Regions from separate parts of the Homo sapiens genome. Here regions 2, 3, 4, 5, 6 and 7 are each linked to region 1. The links are contacts of gene promoters, found by promoter capture Hi-C in blood cells and fetal thymus (Javierre and others, 2016). All regions are on one chromosome and are shown on one strand. The core of a region is centred on a gene start or on the middle of the fragment in contact, and the rest is flanking DNA. Distances in the headings are between cores, read along the strand shown. Region 1 holds the start of BICD1 (BICD cargo adaptor 1). Region 2 holds the start of H3-5 (H3.5 histone). Region 3 overlaps LOC124902913 (a long non-coding RNA gene). Region 4 overlaps AMN1 (antagonist of mitotic exit network 1 homolog). Region 5 overlaps AMN1 (antagonist of mitotic exit network 1 homolog). Region 6 has its middle 11 kb from the start of AMN1-AS1. Region 7 overlaps ETFBKMT (electron transfer flavoprotein subunit beta lysine methyltransferase).

The links. The method cuts DNA at HindIII sites, captures the fragments that hold promoters and counts their contacts. A CHiCAGO score of 5 or more calls a contact.
Region 2: the fragment with the promoter of H3-5 here is called in contact with the fragment with the promoter of BICD1 in region 1 in 5 of 17 cell types (total B cells, activated CD4 T cells, naive CD8 T cells and 2 more); the score reaches 7.1 in total B cells.
Region 3: a contact is called between a fragment that was not itself captured here and the fragment with the promoter of BICD1 in region 1, in 4 of 17 cell types (activated CD4 T cells, neutrophils, fetal thymus and 1 more). The highest score is 8.2, in activated CD4 T cells.
Region 4: a contact is called between a fragment that was not itself captured here and the fragment with the promoter of BICD1 in region 1, in 10 of 17 cell types (non-activated CD4 T cells, total CD4 T cells, naive CD8 T cells and 7 more). The highest score is 8.8, in non-activated CD4 T cells.
Region 5: a fragment that was not itself captured here is called in contact with the fragment with the promoter of BICD1 in region 1 in 10 of 17 cell types (non-activated CD4 T cells, total CD4 T cells, naive CD4 T cells and 7 more); the score reaches 10.0 in non-activated CD4 T cells.
Region 6: a contact is called between a fragment that was not itself captured here and the fragment with the promoter of BICD1 in region 1, in 1 of 17 cell types (total CD4 T cells). The highest score is 5.3, in total CD4 T cells.
Region 7: a contact is called between a fragment that was not itself captured here and the fragment with the promoter of BICD1 in region 1, in 6 of 17 cell types (activated CD4 T cells, non-activated CD4 T cells, total B cells and 3 more). The highest score is 7.9, in activated CD4 T cells.

The regions. Positions count from the first base shown.
Region 1 is chr12:32,105,263-32,108,721 of GRCh38, forward strand. It overlaps BICD1 (BICD cargo adaptor 1), which reads left to right and starts at 1,585. Exons shown (of 10, transcript NM_001714.4): 1 at 1,585-2,282. The coding sequence starts at 2,070. BICD1-AS1 (BICD1 antisense RNA 1) reads right to left here and starts at 2,200. Exons shown (of 3, transcript NR_185992.1): 1 at 2,132-2,200. RefSeq lists a silencer at 1,108-1,587 and enhancers at 1,948-2,027, 2,555-3,192. The HindIII fragment of the contact is 11,162 bases long and covers 1,088-3,459 here.
Region 2 is chr12:31,790,342-31,793,801 of GRCh38, forward strand. It overlaps H3-5 (H3.5 histone), which reads right to left and starts at 1,957. Exons shown (of 1, transcript NM_001013699.3): 1 at 844-1,957. The coding sequence starts at 1,825. The coding sequence ends at 1,418. The HindIII fragment of the contact is 13,966 bases long and covers 1-3,460 here.
Region 3 is chr12:31,640,782-31,644,126 of GRCh38, forward strand. The region is part of intron 1 of LOC124902913 (a long non-coding RNA gene); the gene reads right to left. Among named protein-coding and RNA genes, the nearest start is that of ETFBKMT, 17 kb to the right of the region's middle. The HindIII fragment of the contact is 8,322 bases long and covers 1-3,345 here.
Region 4 is chr12:31,683,166-31,686,699 of GRCh38, forward strand. All of the region lies in intron 6 of AMN1 (antagonist of mitotic exit network 1 homolog), which reads right to left. Among named protein-coding and RNA genes, the nearest start is that of ETFBKMT, 25 kb to the left of the region's middle. The HindIII fragment of the contact is 2,062 bases long and covers 758-2,819 here.
Region 5 is chr12:31,708,642-31,711,725 of GRCh38, forward strand. AMN1 (antagonist of mitotic exit network 1 homolog) reads right to left here. Exons shown (of 7, transcript NM_001113402.2): 2 at 652-784. Among named protein-coding and RNA genes, the nearest start is that of AMN1, 19 kb to the right of the region's middle. The HindIII fragment of the contact is 155 bases long and covers 1,243-1,397 here.
Region 6 is chr12:31,738,423-31,741,689 of GRCh38, forward strand. No RefSeq gene overlaps it. Among named protein-coding and RNA genes, the nearest start is that of AMN1-AS1, 11 kb to the left of the region's middle. The HindIII fragment of the contact is 3,903 bases long and covers 35-3,267 here.
Region 7 is chr12:31,661,017-31,664,553 of GRCh38, forward strand. It overlaps ETFBKMT (electron transfer flavoprotein subunit beta lysine methyltransferase), which reads left to right. Exons shown (of 4, transcript NM_001135863.2): 2 at 825-1,251. The coding sequence starts at 938. Among named protein-coding and RNA genes, the nearest start is that of ETFBKMT, 3.1 kb to the left of the region's middle. RefSeq lists an enhancer at 1,067-1,186. The HindIII fragment of the contact is 609 bases long and covers 1,058-1,666 here.

The DNA.
Region 1 (3,459 bases), core at 335-2,834:
GTATTTTTAGTAGAGATGGGATTTCACCATGTGGGCCAGGCTAGTCTTGAACTCCGGACCTCAAATGATCCATCCACTTCTGCCTCCCAAAGTGCTGGGATTATAGGCGTGAGCCACTGTGCCCGGTCAACAATCATCTTTTTTTTTTTTTTTTTTTTTTTTACCAGGTACACAATGATGGGAGAGTTGAGTCCTGCTTTCTAACTTAGAAAACGCATGTGTGTTCATCACCTGGTCACTGAGAAACAGCTCTGGAATAGGTGCCATGCAGAAGAAGAGAGGGAACTGGAAAGACCCACTGATCTGTGGGTCTCACAGCCTCCCGTTACACAGAAATTGCTTCTTTTCTCTCATGTTGCGTTCTTCCTCTTGATTCTCGACCCTTCTCCACTCTTTCATTTACTCCACTCTTACTTTGCTTTCACCTCCTTTTGTAACCGTTCATCATCACTCTTCATATGGATTAATGTGATTATCTTAAAAGCATGTAATATGTAGTTGCTGGGTTTGTATGAGTAATGAGTGAACCTGAAGCCAACATAATGATCCCGTTTAGTGCTCCCGAGTTAAGATTCCAGAGTTGCCTGACTTTGGACAAATCACATCTCCCTTTGCCTTTCACCCCCTGTAAACTGAGGATAATGGCTCTTACCTCAAAGCATTGTTAGGATTGGAGAGAACGCATGTTACATACTTAGAAGAATGCTTGGTATGGGTCTCAAGAACTCTTAGCTCTTATTGTTTAAAAAATGCTTATTACAGGGCATCGTTGGTATCTTATATAGGGAATTTCAAGCAGTTTTCCTTTATTGAAGACACAGAGTAAGGTGCTTTGATGGAAACTATTGGGGCAAGATATACAGTACCTAGCTAGAGGTTTCCTGGGTGCATGTATTGTGGAGATATTTTTTTTCTGAGTGGATAGCGCTCTTGTGATACGCTGGGTGAGGGCGAGCAATATTTAGCGGACTGTCCTGTGAGGATAGTAAGGTTATCTGGTGAGAGTGTTAGGTGGCCCAGGCCAGACTTGGGAGAGGCAGGGAGAGAGGGGGACGACGGAGGAGGGCGCCTTGGGGTGCGTCTTGAAAGCTTTGGGAAACCCAGCGGTCTTTTGGGGGCAGGTGGCCCAAAAAGCCTTCTGCGCGCCCAGGGGACGAGGAGGATGCGCGGACCGCGACCGCGATAGTTTTGTTTGCTTTTCTCGGGAGAAAGCGTTCCAGGCAGTTTCCTGAGCTTCGGCCCTCGACGTAGCAAAAGAGCCCGGGCGCCCACGCCGCTCTCGGGGTCTTCTACTGCCACCGGGACAAAGCCCTGGGAGGAGCTCCCGCCCCCGCGAGCCGGACAGGGCGGAGGCTCCCCCGCCGCGCGCGCCCCACCGCTTCCCAGTCCCAGACCCGTCGCCTGCGCCTCCTCCTGGCGCGCCTCACGGTGCAGCGGGCGGCGGCCCGCGCGCCCGGCGGGAGGCGCCTCGGGATGTTTCCGTCTGGTCCTTCCCTCCGCCCCCCGCGCTGACTCCATCCGCTCCCCGCCCCCTGCTCGGAGCCGCCGCCACGCGGGAAGGGAGGGAGCCGGCCCCGAGACTGCATCATTCCGCACCGGCTGCTGCAGGGCCAGAGGGAGCAGGTGGAGCGAGAGAGCGAGCCGCGAGCCGGAGCGCGCCAGACCCAGGGCGAGACTGCAGTGACGCGGCCCGGGAGACATGGCGGACGGGCGTCTCTGAATAAGCAGAATCCGGAGCCCCTCGCTACCCGCGGCCGCCGCAGCCCGGGCCATGCCGCACGGCTGCTGACCGCACGCAGGGGCCGGCCCCGAGGACACATGCGGCGGCCTTTGCCGCCTCGCCCCTGACCCTCTGCCCTGTTCTCCATGTTGCATTTCTCGTCAGTTTCTCGGGCGGTGTAGCTGCCGCTGCCACCAGAGCCGGCGGGGCATCGCGCTGCTCATTCATCCGGCCGCACTTTCTTTTCCGTTTCCACCCATCCCTTCCCATTTCCTTCTCCCTTTCCCCGCCAGCTTCGCATCCATCTCCCCCACCCCGTAACCCCCTCCTGCCTCCATCCACCGGGGCTATGGCCGCAGAAGAGGTATTGCAGACGGTGGACCATTATAAGACTGAGATAGAGAGGCTAACCAAGGAGCTCACGGAGACCACCCACGAGAAGATCCAGGCTGCCGAGTACGGGCTGGTGGTGCTGGAGGAGAAGCTGACCCTCAAACAGCAGTATGATGAACTGGAGGCTGAGTACGACAGCCTCAAACAGGAGCTGGAGCAGCTCAAAGAGGTGAGTTGCCTGTCACCTCTCCCTTTCCTGGCCCTCACTCCCCCCACCCGCAAGGCCCACTCATCATGATCAAGAAGTCATAAAGGAGGTGATTGAAAGGACTGTTTTTTCTTCTAGGGCCCTTTGTTGGTAAGAGAAGATTGAAAGAGTCCATTGTTTCCTCCCCCAAGAGAAAAATTGCCTAAGAAATGAATATATAAGCTGGAATTTGGGAGGCAATGGCTGTTTGGCCTGCGGGGGAGGGAGATTAGTAAGAGTCATCAAGTCTCAGCACTCTAAGACGACATTCAAGTGGGTTGGAATGTATAAATCAAACTTCTCAAAACCGCTGTTATCTCAAACCCAGGTTTCAGCGACAATTTCGTAGTCCACAAAAGTGATGAGGTTTGTGCCTGAGGACCCACAATTTCAGGATTTAGACTGTGTGGCACCTCAGCTTTCCTCTGGATGTAACCACTCCTTGGTGAGAGAGGGAACTCCTCACCAATCCCATTTGACAAAGGCTAGGCAATCTTCATTCTGCTTGGCTTTAGTCATTCTTGTCATTGGGCTGCAGAAGAAAAACAACTTTGCTGGGTGATCCCACTGCCTTGATTTCACCTCGGAGCGAGGCTGGGCCATGTCCAAGTCTTATGAGGTCACCCTGACTAGAAAAAATTGAACTCACCTACAAATAGTCTGAAAGAGTGGTGTATATCAAATACGTGGGTAGTGTTGCATTTCAAATGAGGCTCTTCTGGTTGAAATGATATATTTATAAAACCAGAATATCAAAAATGGGTGATGTATAATGTCTCTTTAGTTTTTTGGTATTTGGCCTCTTTTAAAGCCTGTCGGATGTATGGGAGAAAACAATGAACGTGCTTTGATTTCCTATCAGTCACTCTTAAGAACATACATATTGTTTAAGTAACTCGGTCTTTTTTATCTGATTCTTGAGGCACTATGGGTAGCAAATAACCACTTACAAATTTAAATGTAATATACACTCCTTTTCTGTGTGTCAAGTCCTTATTTTTAGGTGCATATTGACATTTAAATGTTAATTATTGTTTGGCATATAATATCAAAAATCTATTATTTATTTTATGCTGTTACAGTTAAAAGATGTGATTTATGACATACTGAATCAACTTGCCTTCCAATTTAGTGTGTAATATGGTAAGCATTTATACTT
Region 2 (3,460 bases), core at 707-3,206, 310 kb before region 1:
TTCTGTACTAACTTGTCTTTTTTTGCAAGTTAAAATGCTAGTCAGTTCTCAAATTTGTCTGTGAATTTTGCAGGATAGAGTATAAAATTCCTTAAATCCTAATTCCAAGCTCTTTACAATGTGGGCCCTACATCCCTAAAGTTTTCTCCTTTGCGTAAATACTACACTTGAGACAAACTAATTGTTTTCCCCCAACATAAACTTTATAGTTCTCTTCTGTTGCATTTCTACTCTCCAATATTTCTGATTCTTTTCCTCTCTTTTTTTTTTTTTGGATAAACAAGTTTATTTGTAAATTTAGTCAACATACATAATTGACCTAAAAACTTCAATAAGATAAATTTTAAAACCACTTGGAAGGCCATCTCTATAAAAATGATTTTCCCAGGACAGTAACCAGATGTAACCTAACCTAACACCATCTTAACCGGCAGAGGTTCAGTGGGCTAGAGCTTTGTGCTCCTCCCCTACACCAAGTTTTTATAATACAAATGCCACAAGAAAAAGAACTTCAGTACTGTTTCCTCTTAGCAGAGGAGAAAACTCAACCTAGTTATGAGACCAACCACACAACACAATGAAAAGCTGCACTAGTTCAGAATATTAGTTAACAGATGATGCTGGTGTGAATAACTCATATTTTTTTCTAGAGCCCTTATAAATAAAATCCCCCAGTTAGTGTTTCCATTATCAGCTAGAGGGTTAGTTAACATGTGGTAGAATGAGGATTTATGCAAGGTATAAATGCACATAGCATTTTACTACTATGAGAACAAGTGCAGTCAGAAGAAAACCAACTGGACTCTAAATTACACACACCTTAATGACAAGACTCCCCACCACTTGTGAATGTAAAACATTTAATTTGAAAATGTTGACACTACAATATATAAAATAGCTATTATAAATGCACATATTGTATTCTATAGCTGCCAGGTTTAATTTTTTTTTTTTAAAGGAAACTATAAGTTACACTGTGGTTAAGGTTTGTATCTTCACCCTTGAAAAAGCCTACATTCTATCACAGTGATGTATGGTCAGACTTAACAGCCCCAATTGTTAAACACTTGGATCAAGTCATAACCAGTTTTATTGCAAAAGGACCCTGTTGTACACATTTATCAATTCTAGTACCTTAATAGCTACCCAACAAGTCATTAACATACAGAAACATGCATCATGAGAAGCAAGAAATATCACGCATCCGTTTTGCATATTAACAACTTGTCACTCCTGAGCAACAGTGCTGACATCACTGAGGTCTGTAAACAGTCACTTTTCGCATTCATCCTGAGTGAAAGATGGAATGACTTAAGTACAAATGCAACATATAAACAATTTCTTACAAAAAAAGTCACCAATTAAACCAAAGTATTTTACAGAATTTACTACAAAATGCCATAAAAACTGCCTTCACTTAAGCTCTCTCTCCCCGTATCCGGCGAGCCAACTGGATGTCTTTGGGCATGATGGTGACTCTCTTAGCGTGGATGGCACACAGGTTAGTATCTTCCAACAGACCCACCAGGTACGCTTCGCTAGCCTCCTGCAGCGCACCGACGGCTGCGCTCTGAAACCTCAGGTCAGTGTTGAAATCCTGCGCGATCTCCCTCACCAACCTCTGGAAGGGCAGCTTCCGGATGAGCAGCTCGGTCGACTTCTGATAACGACGAATCTCTCGAAGCGCCACGGTCCCAGGCCTGTAGCGATGAGGCTTCACCCCGCAGGTAGAGGGGGTGCTTTTCCTGGCAGCTTTCGTGGCCAGCTGTTTGCGGGGGGCTTTCCCACCGGTGGATTTACGAGCAGTCTGCTTGGTTCGGGCCATTTTCTTTCACCCAACGCCGAAGTTTTAGGCCACTTCTCCGACCTCCGCGCTGCTTCCGCTGCCCGAGGAAGAGCCGCAGTCGCGAGCGAAGAACCGACACTGGTCCAACGAACGACCAAACCGCTCTGCGCCCTCCTCTCTTTTATCTGCATCCCTTCCATTCTTCAAAGCCCATTTCGGTGTTTCGTTTTTTGTTGTTGTTTTGTTTTTTGAGACGGAGTCTCGCTTTGTTGCCCAGGCTGGAGTGCAGTGGCGTGATTTCGGTTCACTACAACCTCCACCTCCCAGGTTCGAGCGATTCTCCTGCCTCAGCCTCCAGAGTAGCTGGGATTACAGGCGCCTGCCACCACACCTGGTTAATTTTTGTATTTTTAGTAGAGACGGAGTTTCACCATGTTGGCCAGGCTGGTCTCAAACTCCTGACCTCAGGTGATCCGCCCGCCGCAGCCTCCCAAATTACTGGGATTACAGGTGTGAGCCACTGCACCCGGCCTTTCAAAGCTCATTTCAATCCCACCTCCGTCACAAAGCATTCTTCAGCCACCTTCGTTTTCATCCTTTTTTTCTCTGCACTCTTTCTACCCTTATCATTTACTTGACACTATGCAAATTCTACATGTATATGTATTTCTCATTTATTTTTAGTAATTATCTTTTTTCTTATTATAAAAGTAATACTTGTCCAATTTAAAATACAAAAAATATAGAGAAACAAACTGAAATGTGGAATCACATGTGATAAACACACACACAAGTTGGCTGAATATCTGTTACTCTTGGAATGGGGAAAGAATCATCTAGTCATCTGCCAAGAGGTATAAACCTAAAGTTTAGAAACAGAAATCTGACTTTTAAATGTTACAGTTCTATATGATATTTGTTCCATGGAGTAAATCATAAAGTTTCTCTCTCTCTCTCTCTTTTTTTTTTTTTTTTTTGTTTTTTGGGAGATGGAGTTTCACTGTCCTCACCCAGGCTGGAGTGCAATGGCACGATCTCGTCTCGCTGAAACCTCCACCTCCCAGGTTCAAGCAATTCTCCTGTCTCAGCCTCCCAAGTAGCTGGGATTACAGGTGCCTGCCACCACACCTGGCTAATTTTTGTATTTTTAGTAGAGACGGGGGTTTTACCATTTTCGCCAGGCTGGTCTCGAACTCCTGACGTGAAGTGATCCACCCACTTCAGCCTCCCAAAGTGCTGGGATTACAGGAGTGAGCCACCGTGCCTGGCCACAAAGTATCTCTTTTGTCAGGTGAGTTTTTTAACTTCTAGAAATATGCCACAAAGTGAGCCAGGTGTGGTGGCTCCGCCTGTAATGGTAGCACTGGGAGGCCGAGGCAGGTGGATCACGAGGTCAGGAGTTTGAGACGAGCCTGGCCAACATGGCAAAACCTGTCTCTACTAAAAATACAAAAATTAGCCAAGCGTGGTGGCATACGCCTGTAGTCCCAGCTACTCGGGAGGCTGAGGCAGGAGACTTGCTTGAACCTAGGAGGCAAATGTTGCAATGAGCCCAGATTGCACTACTGCACTCCAGCCAGGGTAACAGAGTGAGACTTTGCCTCCAAAAATAAAAAAATAAAATAACGAAAAGCTATTGGATTGACCATTGATACTTTCCACATCTGAAGAAAT
Region 3 (3,345 bases), core at 825-3,324, 460 kb before region 1:
TTTAGACATTTTAACTGCAGCCCAAGGGGGAATTTTTGCCCTGATCAAAACTGAATGTTGTATTTATATTCCTGAGTATTCCCATAATGTATCCCAGGCTATGAGTTCCTTGGAAACTCACATTACAGCATTAATTCTCTGTCTCAAGGCCCCATAATGGCCTGGTTTGTTAGCTATCCAGTACTTGGAAAGCATTTCTTTTCAGCATGCTTGGTATTGTAATACTCGTTATTATAAATTGCTGTGCTTTTTACTTCTGTTGCACTTGTGTAGGTTTGCAAGATAAAATAGCTCAGCAACTTCTTTGCCCATCTATTTACTCATTTCATATTTTACCTTTATAGGAACTATTGGGACATTGCTCAAGCAAGGAACCACCTGGCTCCCTGAGGAGGCTCACTGCATGCTTTCGTGAAAGGACCCTGTCCCAGCAATCGATGTCCACTATCAGCAGGAAGAAGTTACAGAAGAATGACCTTCACCCTCCTCTCCTCTTAAAATTAAGGGCTCTCTTAGCTGGGCATAGTGGCGCATGCTTGTAATCCCAGATACTTGGGAGGATGAGGCACGAGAATCACTTGAGCCCGGGAAGCAGAGGCTGCAGTGAGCCAAGATCGCACCACCACACTCTAGCCTGGGTGGCAGAGCGAGACCCTGTCTCAAAAAAACAAAACAAAACAAAAAGATTAAGGGTTCCCTCAAAATTAGTGGGGGTAATGTTAGGGAACCAGGAGCCTAGGAGGGCCAGAGTAGCACCATTTTAAGTTCAGCTCCATCTTGAGAAATAGTAAAGCCCATTCTCTGCTGGTCACGACCCACATTCATGGGCTGTTTACAGTGGAAGAAACAGCCTAAAGATACCTACAAGGACACACTCCTACTACAGCCAAGAGTCCAGATGTCCAATACCCATAACAATCTCTGTTTTCAAGATAATAATAGTTTTGCTTTGATGTATCCACACACTAGAATGTCAAGGCCAGTTTTCTTTAAATCAGTAGTCATACATTCTGTCATGCTGTCTGCTCACCCACACGTGGACACAGCTTAGCTTAGCCTTTATATAGACAAGATCTCTAGAGAAGAAAAACAAAAAACAAAGTCGAGGCGTTCCTCCTCTTGCTTTCTGAGGATGCCCTACTCTAACAGTGTAGTTTCTAATAACGTTGCTTCTTTCACTGCACTCTGTGACTCGTTTTGAAGTCCCTCCTGCTCGAGATCCAAGAACGTTCTCTTGGGGTCTGGATAGAGATCCCTTTTCCGGTAACACGATCATTGAAGGTATAGAGGTCCCGGACTGCTGGGAATATTTTATATTTCCTTTTGAAGACTCTCCATCCTGCCCTTATTTCTTAAAGCTGAGTTAATTCCATTGCACATAATTTATTTCTCCCTCCTGTATACATATCTTCCTTTTGTCCTCTTCTGTCGCTTTTAATACCGTGTGGAGGTGCAAAACCCCTTCTAGTAATGGCTGGGGAAAAAAAGTCATGTAAGTCCCAGGGTGAAATAAGACTTTCTAAAAAAAATACTTGAGTCTCAACCTCTAAAACCTTTCAAGTACCCCGATATTTCTTTTCATCTTGTCACAAATTTTTATATTCCTCTTCATCCTGTTAAAATCTCCCCTGTTTTTCTTAAATTACCACCTTTCAAGGTAAATAAAACGCTGCTGGTTCTCTTTTTATCAGTGTGCCATTTAATTTTCGGTTATTACAATAGAATGGTCTTAAATTTGTCTTTAAACTGAAAACATGCAACTCTCAAGTGATAACACGGCTTAGAGAACCTTTTGTTTGAGAGCCTGGAAACTAAGTGTCTCCATTACAATGTTTCCGACTCCCAAAATAACCAAGAGATGAGGTATCCTTGTGCCACCTTTATAAAACTCTTGGTTGTTACGTCTCATGCAGAGACACAATATTTGTTGATAGTTTAAATAATAATTATTATTAATATTAATAGAACATTTTCTATGTTCCAGGCCTTGCTTTAAGAAGTTTATAGGCATTGACTCATTTAATCCTCACCACAACCTATGAAGTAGGTACTTCTTGTTCTCTCATTTTTCAATTTTATTTTGTTTTGTACTTTTAGTAGAGATGGGGTGTCGCCATGTTGCCCAGGCTGGTCTCAAACTCTTGAGCTCAAGCAATACACCCACCTCGGCCTCCCAAAGTGCTGGGATTACAGGTGTGAGCCACCGTGCCCGGCCTTGTTCTCTCATCTTATAGACAAATTCACCGAAGCACAGAGAGGTTACGGCACTTAATCAAGCTCACAGAGCTAGTAAGTGGTGGAACAGATTGACTTTAGAGCCACTCTGTTCTGCCCTTTAACAGAATTCATTCTGTGACATATGGATTATTTTGAGTCTCATTAGGCATATTTTGAAACTACTCAGATTCATATTAAAACTCCATGAAGGTAGGACCGAAGTCTTATTCATTTTTGTTTCTCCCACAAATTTTTTTTTTTTTTTCTGAGATGGAGTCTCACTCTGTTGCCCAGGCTGGAGTGCAGTGGCGTGATCTCAGCTCACTGCAACCTCTGCCTCCCGGGTTCAAGCAATTCTCCTGCCTCAGCCTCCTGAGTAGCTGGGACTACAGGCACACACCACCACACAGGGCTAATTTTTGTTTTTCGTTTTTGTTTGTTTGAGACGGACTCTTGTTCTGTCACCCAGGCTGGAGTGCAGTGGTGCGATCTCAGCTCACTGTAAACTCTGCCTCCTGGGTTCAAGCGATTCTCCTGCCTCAGCCTCCCATGTAGCTGGGATTACAGGGGCATGCCACCACGCCCAGCTAATTTTTGTATTTTTAGTAGAGACAGGGTTTCACCATTTTGGCCAGCCTGGTCTTGAACTGCTGACCTCAAGTGATCCATCCACCTCGGCCTCCCAAAGTGCTGGGATTATAAGCGTGAGCCACCGCACCTGGACAATTTTTATATTTTTTCTAGTAGAGACGGAGTTTCATCATGTTGGCCAGGCTGGTTTCGAACTCCTGACCTCAAGTGATCCGCCTGCGTCGGCCTCCCAAAGTGCTGAGATTACAGGCATGAGACACCGCACCTGGCCCCCTAGCAGGTTCTTGATAGTTGCTGACAATGGAGCTAGCTGGGGATTCTTTCCTCCGATGGTCATTATGCATTATAGACAAGGTTCCTGTGTTCTCATTATGCCCCCAAGGAACATGCTTCAGCAAACGTGAAAAATGCCAGAGCCATACATTTTTTTTTTTTTTTTTTTGAGACAGGGTCTCCCTCTGTCACCCAGCCTGGAGTGCAGTGGCATGATCACAGCTCACTGCACATTCATCTGCCCAAGCCCAAGTGAGCCTCACA
Region 4 (3,534 bases), core at 539-3,038, 420 kb before region 1:
TTGGCCAGGCTGGTCTCAAACTCCTAATCTCAAGTGATCTGCCTGCCTTGGCCTCCCAAAGTGCAGGACTACAGGCGTGAGCTACCACACCTGGCCAGAAAATGATATGCTATTCTTGCTGCAAATGTTGAAGTTGACTGATAATTTTTCTTTACCATAAAGCAGTGGTTCCCAAAGTGTAGTCTGCATATTCTGTAGTCTGAGACCCTTTCAGGGTTGTGAACTGAACTAGTTACTTTTCTCATGGAACACCATTTTTACTTTTTAAAAGAATGATTGATATGGTTTGACTGTGTCGCCACCCAAATCTCATCTTGAATTGTAGCTCCCACAATTCCCATGTGTCGTGAGAGGGACCCGGTGGGAGGTAATTGAATCATGGGGGCAAGTCTTTCCTGTGCTGTTCTTATGATAGTAAATAAGTCTCATGAGATCTGATGGTTTTAAAAGGGGAAACCCCTTCTCTTGGCTCTCATTCTCTCTTGCCTGCCACCCTGTAAGACGTGCCTTTCGCCTTCAGCCATGATTGTGAGGCTTCCCCAGCCACGTGGAACTGTGAGTCCATTAAACCTCTTTTTCTTTATAAGTTACCCAGTCTTGGGTATGTCTGTATCAGCAGTGTGAAAACGGACTAATACAATGACTACAGTGTAAGGTTATTCTTATTTGAGTACTTGGCAGACTATTTCATGAAAATAGAAGAAATGAGGCTGTCATTTCAAAGAAAACAAATGACAGAATTTGTTGTCAGTGATAAAGCTTTAGCTTTCAAGTGAATTTTGGAAGCCTCGTAGCTGCCACTGTGATCTTGAAAGCTATCCAGGACCTTTCTAATGACATCAGTTATTATGTTAACAACTGATTTTTGTTTTGGATAATAAAATGTGTCAATATTTAAAAGATCTATATAACTCAGAGAACCAATATTTTCCGAACTGCCAATGCATGATGTTACAAAATCATGCATTGGTAAAGATCAACTCAAAATTCAAGACAGACTAGTGCATCATAACACAAATGTATGAAAAGTGCATCATAACAAAATGTACGCAAAGTTCATTGATATGTTTTCAAGTTCCACATTGCAACAACCCATAAGAAATTACCACTTGCTGAGTTTTGGGGTATCAAAGAAGAGTATCCACAATGATCTGAAAAGTGATGATCTGAATGAAAATATATCTCTTTTCTAGGTAATAGATTTACGATTTTTAAAAAATGAATGTCTATTAAAATTTATCTGTTTTAATAGAAATTTTAATTTAACAAATATACATAAACAAAAACTCTTTGGGGATCCTCAGTGATTTTTTTTTTTTTTTTGAGATGGAGTCTCACTCTATTGCCCAGGCTGGAGTGCCGTTGTGCGATCTTGGCTCACTGCAAGCTCGGCCTCCCAAGTTCATGCCATTCTCCTGCCTCAGCCTCCTGAATAGCTGGGACTACAGGCGCCCGCCACCATGCCCGGCTAATTTTTTTGTATTTTTAGTACGGACAGGGTTTCACCGTGTTAGCCAGGATGATCTCGATCTCCTGACCTTGTGATCCACCTGCCTTGGCCTCGCAAAGTGCTGGGATTACCGGCGTGAGCCACCGCGCCCGGCCTGGGATCCTCAATAATTTTTAAGAATGTAAATGGGTCCTGGGGTCTATTTGAAAAATACTACCAGAAAGTATTATTTCAATTACTGAAACCTACAAATGGTTAAGTGTTTTCTCATCACCAACATAAAAATACGAAGGTAAAACCAATAGAATTGCTCTGAAACATACGGGGAATACAAAATCTAAGATGCTTCTTAAGTGAGTTACATTTATATCACATATCTTTTAGATTTTTATAAATTTTGTTTTCCATAATTATTATTTTTTTTTTTTTGAGATAGAGTCCTGCCCACTCTTGCCCAGGCTGGAGTGCAGTGCGGAGATCTTGGCTCACTGTAACCTCTGCCTTCCAGGTTCAAGCTATTCTCCTGCCTCAGCCTCCCAAGTAGCTGGGATTACAGGCACCCAGCCCCACACTCAACTAATTTTTGTATTTTTAGTAGACACAGGGTTTCACCATGTTGGCCAGGTTGGTCTTGAACTCCTGACCTCAAGTGGTCTGCCCACCTCAGCCTCCCAAAGTGTTGGGATTACAGGCGTGAGCCACTTCGCCTGGCCTATAATGGTATTTTAATTTGTATGTTGAACAAAGATGGCTCTTAAGGTTCAACATTAACAGCAATTCTACTTTTGTCTCCCTTGGTCCCTCCAAAGCTGTCCATTGAAGGATCATTCTTCCCACACTCTTAAATGAAAATTTAGTTAATACCATGACTTTCACATTTTTTCCACTATAGAACGCTCAAACAGCTGGGCGTGGTAGCTCACGCTTGTAATCCCAGAACTTTGGGAGGCCAAGGCGGGCAGATCACCTGAGGTCAGGAGTTCGACAACAGCCTGGCCAACATGGTGAAACACCATTTCTACTAAAAATACAAAAATTAGCCAGACCTGGTGGCGGGCGTCTGTAATCCCAGCTACTTGGGAGGCTGAGGCAGGAGAATCACTTGAACCTGGGAGGCGGAGGTTGCAGTGAGTCAAGATTGCACCACTGCACTCCAGCCTGGGCGACAGAGCAAGACTCATTATCAAAAAAAAAAGAAAGAAAGAAAGAAAAAAGGAATGCTCAACCGCATTTGTTATTATTTTTTTTTTTTTGGAAACGGAGTTTCACTCTTGTTGCCCAAGCTGGAGTGCAATGACGTGATCTCAGCTCATTGCAATCATTTAGTGTGATTAAGCTCATTGCACTCATTAATCATTTAGTGTCATTAAGCTTTCCTGGTGTCTGAAATCACATCAACTAGGCATTTATCTTAAATCCATGATCTGTTAACATATCTTTGGTTACTAGTGATCTCCATAATGACATAATTTATCTCAAAAGACTCCTTGGTTTGAAAATCTGATTAACCACTCCAGTATATTTTCCAGACTTGAAAACTGGTATTTAGGCCAGGCATGGTGATTCATGCCTGTAATCCCAGCACTTTGGGAGACTGAGCCAGGTGGATCACCTGAGGTCAGGAGTTCAAGACCAGCCTGGCCAACATGGTGAAACCCTGTCTCTACTAAAATACAAAAATTAGCTGGGTAGGGTGGTGCAAGCCTGTAATCCCAGCTACTTGGGAGGCTGAGGCAGGAGAAGCACTTGAACCCAGGAGGTGGAGGTTGCAGTGAGCCAAGATCATGCCTCTGCACTCCAGCCTGGGTGACAGAGTGAGATTCTGCCTCAAAAAAAGAAAAAAGAAAATTGGTATTTATTGCTTCTCTCTACAGATGCTTCTCAATTTATGATGGGGTTACACCCTGACAAACTCATAAGTCGAAAATACACAAAGTCGAAAATGTGTTCAATATACCTAACTTACTGAACAACATAGCTTAGCCTAGCCTACATGCTCAGAACACTTAAATTAGCCTACAGATGGGCAAAATTTTCCGACACAAAGCCTATTTTTTAATAAAGTGTTGACTGTCTCATGTAAT
Region 5 (3,084 bases), core at 70-2,569, 400 kb before region 1:
ACTTGCTGGTTTTGTGGCTCAGGTGGGCATCACAGTCCTACCGATATGTGATGTCACCCCCGGCGGCCCAGCTGTAAAATTCCTCTCTTTGTACTCTTTCTCTTTATTTCTCAGACCAGCCGACACTTAGGAAAAATAGAAAGAACCTACATTGAAATATTGGGGGCAGGTTCCTCTGATAATTACATATGGACATTTTGGTTATCTGGAGGGAAAAAAACAAACCCTTATACTTTATAATATTCTAAAATGTGGGCCAGGCATGGTGGCTCACACCTGTAATCCCAGCATTTTGAGAGGCTGAGGCGGATGGATCACTTGAGCTCCGGAGTTCGAGACCAGCCTGGGCAACATGGTGAAACCCTGTCTCTACAAAAAATGCAAAAATTAGCCAGGCATGGTGGTGTACACCTATAGTCCCAACTACTCAGGAGGCTGAAGAGGGATCACCTAAGTCCAGGCAGCGGAGGTTGCAGTGAGCTGAGATTGCACCACTGTACTCCAGCCTGGGCAACGGAGCATGACCCTGTATAAAAAAAAAAAAATTAAAAATGATTACCAGTCTTACCATATACCATTGTTCCAAAAATCTAAAACCATATCTAAACAGAAAATATAATATGCTTGCTTTACAGTTATTCATACTCTTACCTCACTTATATTTGAATCTGTTATCTGTCCCTGCATACTCATTATTTTAATCAGTCTGTCTTTTATGTTGGGAGGCAAAGGCTTAATGTCTGTGAGATATCTGGAAATATTCTTCATGAAGCACCAAAGGCATCTGAAATACAAATACAATATAGTAAATCACACTGGGCCTGTACTGATTCCTAACACTTGTCTTAATGCTATTTGTTAGCACTTAGCCCTTTCATAAAAGTGTGTACATTTTGGCTGGGTGTGGTGGCTCACGCCTGTAATCCCAACACTTTGGGAAGCCCAGGCAGGAGGATGGCTTGAGCTCAGGAGTTTGAGACCAGCCTGAACAACATAGTGAAACCCTGTCTCTACAAAAAAAGAAAAAAAATACAAAAATTAGCTGAGCATGGTGATGTGAGCCTGTAGTCCCAGCTACTTGGGAGGCTGAGGTGGGAGGATCGCTTGGGCCCAGAAGGTCGAGACTGCAGTGAGCTGTGATTGTGCCACTACGCTCCAGCCTGGGCAACAGAGCAAGATCCTGTCTCAAAAAAAAGTATATACATTTTATATTAATACTATATTTACAACTTTAGCTCTGTAAGCTTCAAAAACCTAGTCTGTGTTAAATTACGGACAAGATGCTCTTCCTCTACAATTTTTTTCTATGCATACCTCATTTATCAAAATGCATTTTAAATGACCAACAAGAATGTTTTTCCTAAGTGTCTAATTTCTAAGACACATACTCCTAAATAAGCTTTATATTGGGACCCACTAATTGAAAAGTTTTATCTGTTAATCCAGCAAACTTGTTTTTACTATTTTTCTTGAAAACTATGTGGATAATGAAATCACTAGAGAAAGAACCATAACCACAAAGATTCAGCAAATATTACAAATCACAGAGATATCAAACTCAGTGCCAGGGTTGTATAGGCAGAAAGTAGAGTTATCAGGCAACAACCAAGAATCTTATGACCAACATATCTTATCTGTGTCCTGAAATTCCAACCATCTGAAAAACTCATACTTTAAAGAAACAAATACAAATCTTATTAATTTCTGTCTACAAATATCCCCATATATACAAAATTTTACATTCATGAGTGAATGTGATCATATACCTGTGATTAATTTTTTAGTGCAATGTTAATTTTTTCTTTTTCCTCTTTTGGTTTCCTACACAGTTTCCTCTCTTGTCCTTCCCCCTCCATTAGCTCTCTACACCAATGTAGCATATATTCTTTCTTATTTTTCTCTGTTCTTGTACACACACACACACACACACACACACACACACACATTTAAAGGCTTGTGTGGGGGAGGGGTCATTGTTTCCTAAAACGGCACCACAGTACACTTACTTTTATACACTGTCTTTCATTCAGTATCTTATGAAATCCCTTCAAGGCATCCGACACAGTACTGATTCTCCCTTAATGGTCACATCATATTTCACAGTACGGATGATCTATTTAGTGACTTGTATGCTGACAAGCATTACCACTATTTCTAGGATATGTTGTCAGATTATTTTTCAGAAAGTCTGGAAAACACTTCATATTTCTATTAGTAGTGTCAGAAAGCTCCTTTCCCTCTACATCCTTCCAGCAATAGATATCATGGCTAGTTTATTTATTTTTTGAGACAGAGTCTCACTCTGTCACCCAGGCTGGAGTGCAGTGGCATGATCTCAGCTCACTGCAACCTCTGCCTCCCAGGTTCAAGCAATTCTTCTGCCTCAGCCTCCCAAGTAGCTGAGACTATAGGCGTGTGCCACCATGCCTGGCTAATTTTTGTATTTTTAATAGAGATGGGGTTTCACCATATTGGCCAGGATGGTCCAAACTCCTCACTTGGGATTACAGGCATGAGCCACCGCACCCAGCCCTATTTATTTATTTTATATTTAATTTTAATTTTATTTATTCTTTCCATTTCTTTGTTATCTCCATTTCCCACTCCCATTCCCCACCCCTCTAGGAAACCATTCTCATGTTTAATGTGTATCCTTTCATTGTATATTTCCTTTTAACATGTTTATTGTATGCATGCATTTCTAATTTATAAACATGGGACTTGTCATAGATTTGTTTAGTTTTTCACTCAGCACTGTTTTCAAGATCACCTACTCTTAAATGTTGGAAGGCCTAACAGGTGAAAATGATGTCTCACTATTACTTTAACTTGTATTTCTCTAATTACCAATAAACAACATCCTTGCATGAGCTTGCTGGCTATCTGGATATGCTTTTCCATAAACAATCTATACATATCCTTTGCCTGTTTTGTTATTTTTAAAAACTGATACATAATAGATGTACATATTTTCAGGGTACATGTGATAATTTGATACATTCATATAATGTGTAAAGATCAAATCAGGGTAACTGGGTTATCCATCACCTTAAATATTTATCTTTTGTTTATGCTAGGAACATT
Region 6 (3,267 bases), core at 736-3,235, 370 kb before region 1:
AATAATTACTAATTGAAAATGAATGAATGAACAAAGCTTTGATTTGTCTCTTTCCAATCTCTACCTCCTTGCCTCTAATCCTTCAATGAGTTTCTGGGCTCAGTCTTCAAAATGTACTCAAATTTGACCACTGCTGAACATCTGTGGGGCTGTCAACTGAGTGCACGCCCAGGCTGAAAGTGTTGTCTGACTCTCCTGTTCACCTGGTAAACTCCTCACTCCTCTTCCCATTTGTTCATTGATTCCACATTTATCGAGGTACACGCAGGGTGCTAGGCGTGAACTCACAGTCTGGTGGGGGAGGTAGGAGAGGAACACTGATAGAGATCATTACTGCATAAGAAATGGGGAAGCAGTGGCTCACGCCTGTAATCCCAGCACTTTGGGAGACCAAGGGGGGTGAATCATTTGAGCTCAGAAGTTCCAGACCAGCCTGGCCAACATGGAGAAACCCCATCTCTACTAAAAATACAAAAATTAGCTGGGTGTGGTGGTATGCGCCTGTAATCCCAGCTACTTGGGAGGCTGAGGCAGGAGAATTGCTGGAACCCTGGAGGTGGAGGTTGCAGTGAGCCGAGATCGTGCCATTGCACTCTAGCCTGGACGATAGAACGAGACTCTGTCTCAAAAATAAATAAATAAATAAGGAAAAAAAAGAAATGGGGAATGCAGAGGTGGGTGTGGTGGTCTGGGCAGGTGAAGACCTGCAGCCCTCACTCCAATTGCACAGAAGACTAGGCCAGAGACAAGGAGTCACTCCTCTCTGCTCTGTGCTGGGGTGGAGATGGGGGTTGGGATTAGGGTGGTGGGGGGTTCTTTTGTGTATATGAGGAGAAGCCAGGCAAACCCTTGCATCTGTTCTTCCCCTCAAATGATATTTTAAAAAACAAACAAGCCCAGTCCAGAGTGAGTACACCTTGTCCTGCCTCTTTTCTCATGTGTTTAGGTGGGAGTGACCTTCTGGCCCCATTTGACAGTAGAGAACCTGAGATTAGGCAAGGAGAAGCCATTTCCCCAGGCTTGCCACAAACTAAGGCCGCAAACAGACTGTGTACCATTCGCTCAGGAGCAATTCGTATTGCAGCTCATGAGCACCCAGTCCAGAGCCACCTCCAGAACAGGAGCTCAACCCTCTTTTTGAGAGCTTCTCTGAGGGGCCCTCCTATTAAAAATGGGGAAACTGAGGCCCGGAGAAAGGAAGTGACTTGCAAGGAGTAACAGAGCAGTCAGAGAGACCTGCCCCAGGAGTTCTAATTCTAATCACCATAACAGCTATTATTTATTGAGCCCTTCCTGTGTGCTGAATCTTGTTCCAAGCCTTTACAAATAGTGTCTTGTTCCATCCCCCAGTGATTCTATGGCTATATACTAAAAGCCCACAGTCCTTTATCTGCAATTTGGAAGCCCAAAAAACTCTGAAGCCAAAAGGATTTTCCTGTATTTGCTGCCCAGACTCTTCTGTGTGAAGAGTGGATAAATGTGGAATCAATTAATGAATGGGAAGAGGAGTGAGGAGTTGAACAGGTGAACAGGAGAGTGAAGCTATTTAAATTATATATTTTTTTGGTTTGTTTGTTTAATTGTTTGTTTCTTTGTTGAGATGGAGTCTTGCTCTGTCACCCAGGCTGGAGTGCAGTGGCACGATCTCGGCTCACTGCAACCTTCGCCTCCCGGGTTCAAGTGATTCTCCTGCCTCAGCCTCCCGAGTAGCTGGGATTATAGGCGCCCACCATCATGCCCAGCTAATTTTTGTATTTTTAGTAGAGACGGGGTTTCACCATGTTGGCCAGGCTGGTCTCGAATTCCTGATCTCAGGTGATCCGCCCACCCCGGCCTCCCAAAGTGCTGGGATTACAGGCGTGAGCCACCACGCCCAGCCTATTTATATTTTTTAATAATAATTTTTATTGATAAATTTTAAAAATTAGGGGGAAAAGGTGTGAATAGCCATACCCTTATTAGCGTTTCATTGTTTTGTAACAATACACATTTACCAAGTAGCAGGAGTCTGAGCATGGCTTGACTGGGTCCTCTGCTTATGGTCTCAAAAGGCTACAATCGAGCTGTCATCAGGGACTGCAGTCTCACCTGGGTTCAGATGGGGAAGGACTCACTTCCAAGTTCACTCATGTTAATGGCAGAATTCAGTTCCTTGAGGTCGTAGGACTGAGAGCTTCAAGTTTTTTGTTGGCTGTTGGCTGGAGGCTGCCCTCAGCTCTGAGAGGCTGCCTGTATTTCTTGCCATGCAGAGTCCTCTAACATGGCCATCTGCGCCCTCAAAGCTAAACTGGGGGAGGGGGAGAAAGATGGGTGCTACCATCTTATGTAACATGACCCCAATCATGTACACACAATCACATACATCCCATCATCTTTACTGTTTCTTTCAGTTAGAAGCGAGCCACAGATCCTGCCCACACTAAGGGGAAAGGATCACATAAGGGGAGGCAAGGATCGTGGGGCCAACTAAGAGTCTTTCCACCACAAACCACAAAGCCTTCCACTGCAAATATTATTGTGTTTGGTTATGTCCTAGAAAAAAATAAGGTTTTAATCTCACATGAAAAGTCAGAATGCCAGACTGGGCAATATGGGAAAACCTCATCTCTTCCAAATATATATATATATATATCCAGCTGTGGTGGCACATGCCTGTAGTCCCAGCTACTTAGGACGCTGAGGTGAGTGGATCGCTTGAGCCTGGGGGGGGTCAAAGCTGCAATGAGCCAAGACTGTGCCACTGCACTCCAGTGGACAACAGAGTGAGACACTGTCTCAAAAAAAAAAAAAAAAAAAAAAAGAGAGAGAAAAGGAAGGAAGGAGAAGGAAGAGAGGAAGAGAGGAAGCGGGGGAGGGAGGGAGGTCAGAATAAGAGGAGGGAGGTCAGAATAGGATAGTTCCAGGGTTGGTTGTTCAGTGGCTTAATGACATTATAATTCCTGCTCAGAACCTCTGTGATTCCCTTGAGTTTTCCTCTCATGCTTTCAAGATGGCTCTGCAGGTCCAAGCAATACATCCTTGCACTGAGGATGCAAGTTAGGAAAATTCTAGTTCATTGCTTTACTTTGAGCCTCTTATTTGACTTATTCCATTTTACTTGTGAAATACGCATGTGACAGCTGGAATTGGCATTAGACATGTTAGACAGAAAGTAAAATTGAGTATATTTCTGATTCTCAAGCATTTGTTTTTGCCACTGTTTAAGAAATAAGCAATGCATTGTCACATACTAAGCACTCAGTTGTTTGTTGAATGAAATATAACACT
Region 7 (3,537 bases), core at 112-2,611, 440 kb before region 1:
TATAAAATTACAACAATAAAAATAACACAAAAATAGTGTAACAACTACTTATATAGCATTTACGTTGTATTAAGTATTATGAGTCATCCAGAGATGATTTAAAGTAAAGTATACCACAGCATATGCCTAGTTTATATACAAATATGATGCCATTTTATATAAGGGACTTGAGTATCCTCTGATTGTGGTATCCTGGAAGCAGGGGATACCGGAACCAATCACTTGAGGATACTGAAGGATGACTGTATGGCTGATTTCCTGTAAGAGGCATTTTCTTGAGGATTCTTTCAAAATCAAATGCTTGTATATTTGTTGTGTTAAATTACTAAAAGGATTCTCTTGTGAAAAGTATCATTTAAAAAGATTGGATTTTCCCAATTGATGCACCAAAGCTTTCATCTGAAATGAACTTGCACATGTGAATCATCAGATACAGTAATATACACTGTAATATTTTATTTCTTTTTTTTTTTTATGAGACGGAGTTTTGCTCTTGTTGCCCAGGCTGGAATGCAATGGTGCGATCTCGGCACACTGCAACCTCCGCCTCCCGGGTTCAAGCAATTCTCAAGTAGTGAGATTACAGGTACCCGCCACCACGCCTGGCTAATTTTTTGTATTTTTAGTAGAGACAGGGTTTCACCATGATGGCCACACTGGTCTTGAACACCTGACCTCGTGATCCACCCGCCTTGGCCTCCCAAAGTGCAGGGATTACAGGCGTGAGCCACCGCGCCCGGCCAATATTTTCTTATTATGTAATAGGATCTAGAAATGTTGCTCTTCCTCAGAATTCTCAGTATTACTTTTCTTTTTTTTTTCAGAGTCAGAGGTTCCGGTTGAGATCAAGTTGGGAGACACACCCTTGTTCATTCTCCTTGAGAAGCAGCTATTATCAACAGAACATTGACAGAACCTGTGTTTGGGGAAAGGACTGATGGCTTTGAGTCTAGGTTGGAAAGCACACAGGAACCACTGTGGTCTCCTCTTGCAGGCTCTGCGAAGCAGTGGTCTTCTCTTGTTTCCCTGTGGCCAGTGTCCCTGGAGAGGAGCTGGAAGCTTTTTGGACCCTGAGATAAAGGCTTTCCTGGAGGAGAACACTGAAGTCACCAGCAGTGGTAGCCTCACCCCTGAAATCCAGTTGCGGCTTTTGACCCCCAGATGCAAATTCTGGTGGGAGAGAGCTGACCTGTGGCCCCACAGTGATCCTTACTGGGCAATCTACTGGCCAGGAGGCCAAGCCCTGTCTAGGTACTACCCTAATGAAACCTTTAAGGCGCTACAGATCTTTGCTGTTTTCAGTTCCCTCCAACCTCTACAAAAAACCAGAGCAATGCTAGGCGTGGTGGCTCATGCCTGTAGTCTCAGTACTTTGGGAGGCTGAGGCTGTAAGCTGTGATCCTGCCACTGCACTCTCGCCTGGCCTGTCTCAAAAACAAAACAGAAACCGGCAAAACTCAGTCTTGTTGTTTTCTTTTTTCTTTCTTTCTTTTTTTTTTTTTTTTTTGGTAGAGACAGGATCTTGCTATGTTGTCCAGGCTGGTCTTAAACATCTGGCCTCCTCAACCTCCCCAAGTGCTGGTATTACAGACATGAGCCTCTGAGCCTAGCCTCAGGTTAGCCATATTTTTTGTTGCCTTGTTGCGTAATTTCCCATTCTAACCCAAGCTTATCAAGCTATTTTCCCAAGTAACTGTCTCCCCAAGAGAAATCCTAGAGTCAGCTGTCAAGACCCTGGATAGCTATAAGTGATCCAGAAATCTCACCTGTTAGGAGGTTCATAGTTCATAGCGCATGACCATTGCAGAGTTCCTAGATGGAAGCTAAACACCCAGTCCTTTCGCTCTCCTTTAATTCAGTGAATGTCGCTCCATAAACCTCACATTCCTTCCAGAGTTGCTTATTTTCCCATAAAACAGGAGCTGTGAGTGAGTGGGCTGTTCAAAGTTTCCCTCTTCTGTTGGGTGCAGTGCCTGTAATCCCAGTGCTTTAGGAAGCCAGTGCAGGAGGACAGCTTGAAGTCAAGAGTTTGAGACCAGCGTAGGCAACATAGTGATACCCCTATCTCTACAAAAAAAAATTTTTTTTTTTTTTGAGACAGAGTCTCACTCTGTCACCCAGGCTGGAGTGCAGTGGTGTGATCTCGGCTCACTGCAAGCCCCGCCTCCCGGGTTCACGCCATTCTCCTGCCTCACCCTCCTGAGTAGCTGGGACTACAGGCTCATGCCACCATGCCCGGCTAATTTTTGTATTTTTAGTAGAGATGGGGTTTCACCATGTTGATCAGGCTGGTCTCGAACTTCTGACCTCGTGATCCGCCCTCCTCGGCCTCCCAAAGTGCTGGGATTACAGGCGTGAGCCACCGCGCCTGGCTTAATTTTGTATTTTTAGTAGAGACAGGGTTTCACCATGTTGACCAGGCTGGTCTCGAACCCCTGACCTCAAGTGATCCGCCAGCCTCGGCCTCCCAAAGTGCTGGGATTACAGGCATGAGCCATCGTGCCTGGCAGTAGCAGCTATTTAGACAGGGCATGTATGCCTCTACTTTGCCATAGTGTTAACTGGTTGATGTCAAGTCCCAGGTTCTTAGTGCCATCAACAAAGAATTGGACATGACACATACAAGTAGCAAGGCAGCAAACAGTTTGTTAAGCAGAATGCAATCAGCAACGGATCAGGCTGACCTGCGAGTGGTATCAGCCCCAGTTTGTTATAGTTCATGGCCTTTTATATGTTTTTTCCTCACTTGCTTAACCTTACTTTGTTTTTCGTAAGTGAATTGCTCATCCTGGCCTTTCCCTCATTGTGCCTAAACCGCACTTTATTTCTCATAAGCTAATTGTGCATCCTTGCTTAACCTTATTTTATCTTTTCTGACAAAATTGCTCATCTTTACTTTTAGTTCTTGTAACCAAATTGCTACTGCAACCCCTTTCCACTTATTTTCCTTATCTTGCATGTTCTAACTCATTGCTTACTCCCGTATCTCTTACTGCTTACTGTCTTATTTCATATGTCCTGTTTCTGCTATCTTGTATGCTTTGCTTTTGGTATTGCTTCAGCTAGCCTATGTCCAACGGGTCCCCTTCACCCCTGACTTCCTCTGCCATTCTCCTGCCTCAGTAGTACCCACTGTTCCTTATTACTCCAATCCGAAGATCAAGAGTCAGCTGAAATTTGTTATTTCAGCGTTTCTCCATCCCTCTTCGCTTGTTTGGTAACTATTTAGCTCCAGTCCAAATTCCTTGGTTGAATTGGACTTTGAGTTTTACCAGAGAGGTCATTATACTACATTTCAAGCAGCAGGAAAATCACTCTATGATGGAGTCAAGAGGAGACAGTGACTCTTGGATTGAGTTTACTAATTTTAGTCTTTGTTTTAGCAGTATTTTGTCAGTCTTAATTCGTGGTGCTCGGTAGTTTCTGGAACATACTAAGTATTCAATACTTTGTCAGCCGAAATGAGAGACTGAGGCATGAGTCTCAACCAGTCAAGGTTTGTTAAGCCCAAGAAAAATGCAAGTCACAGAAAAGTTT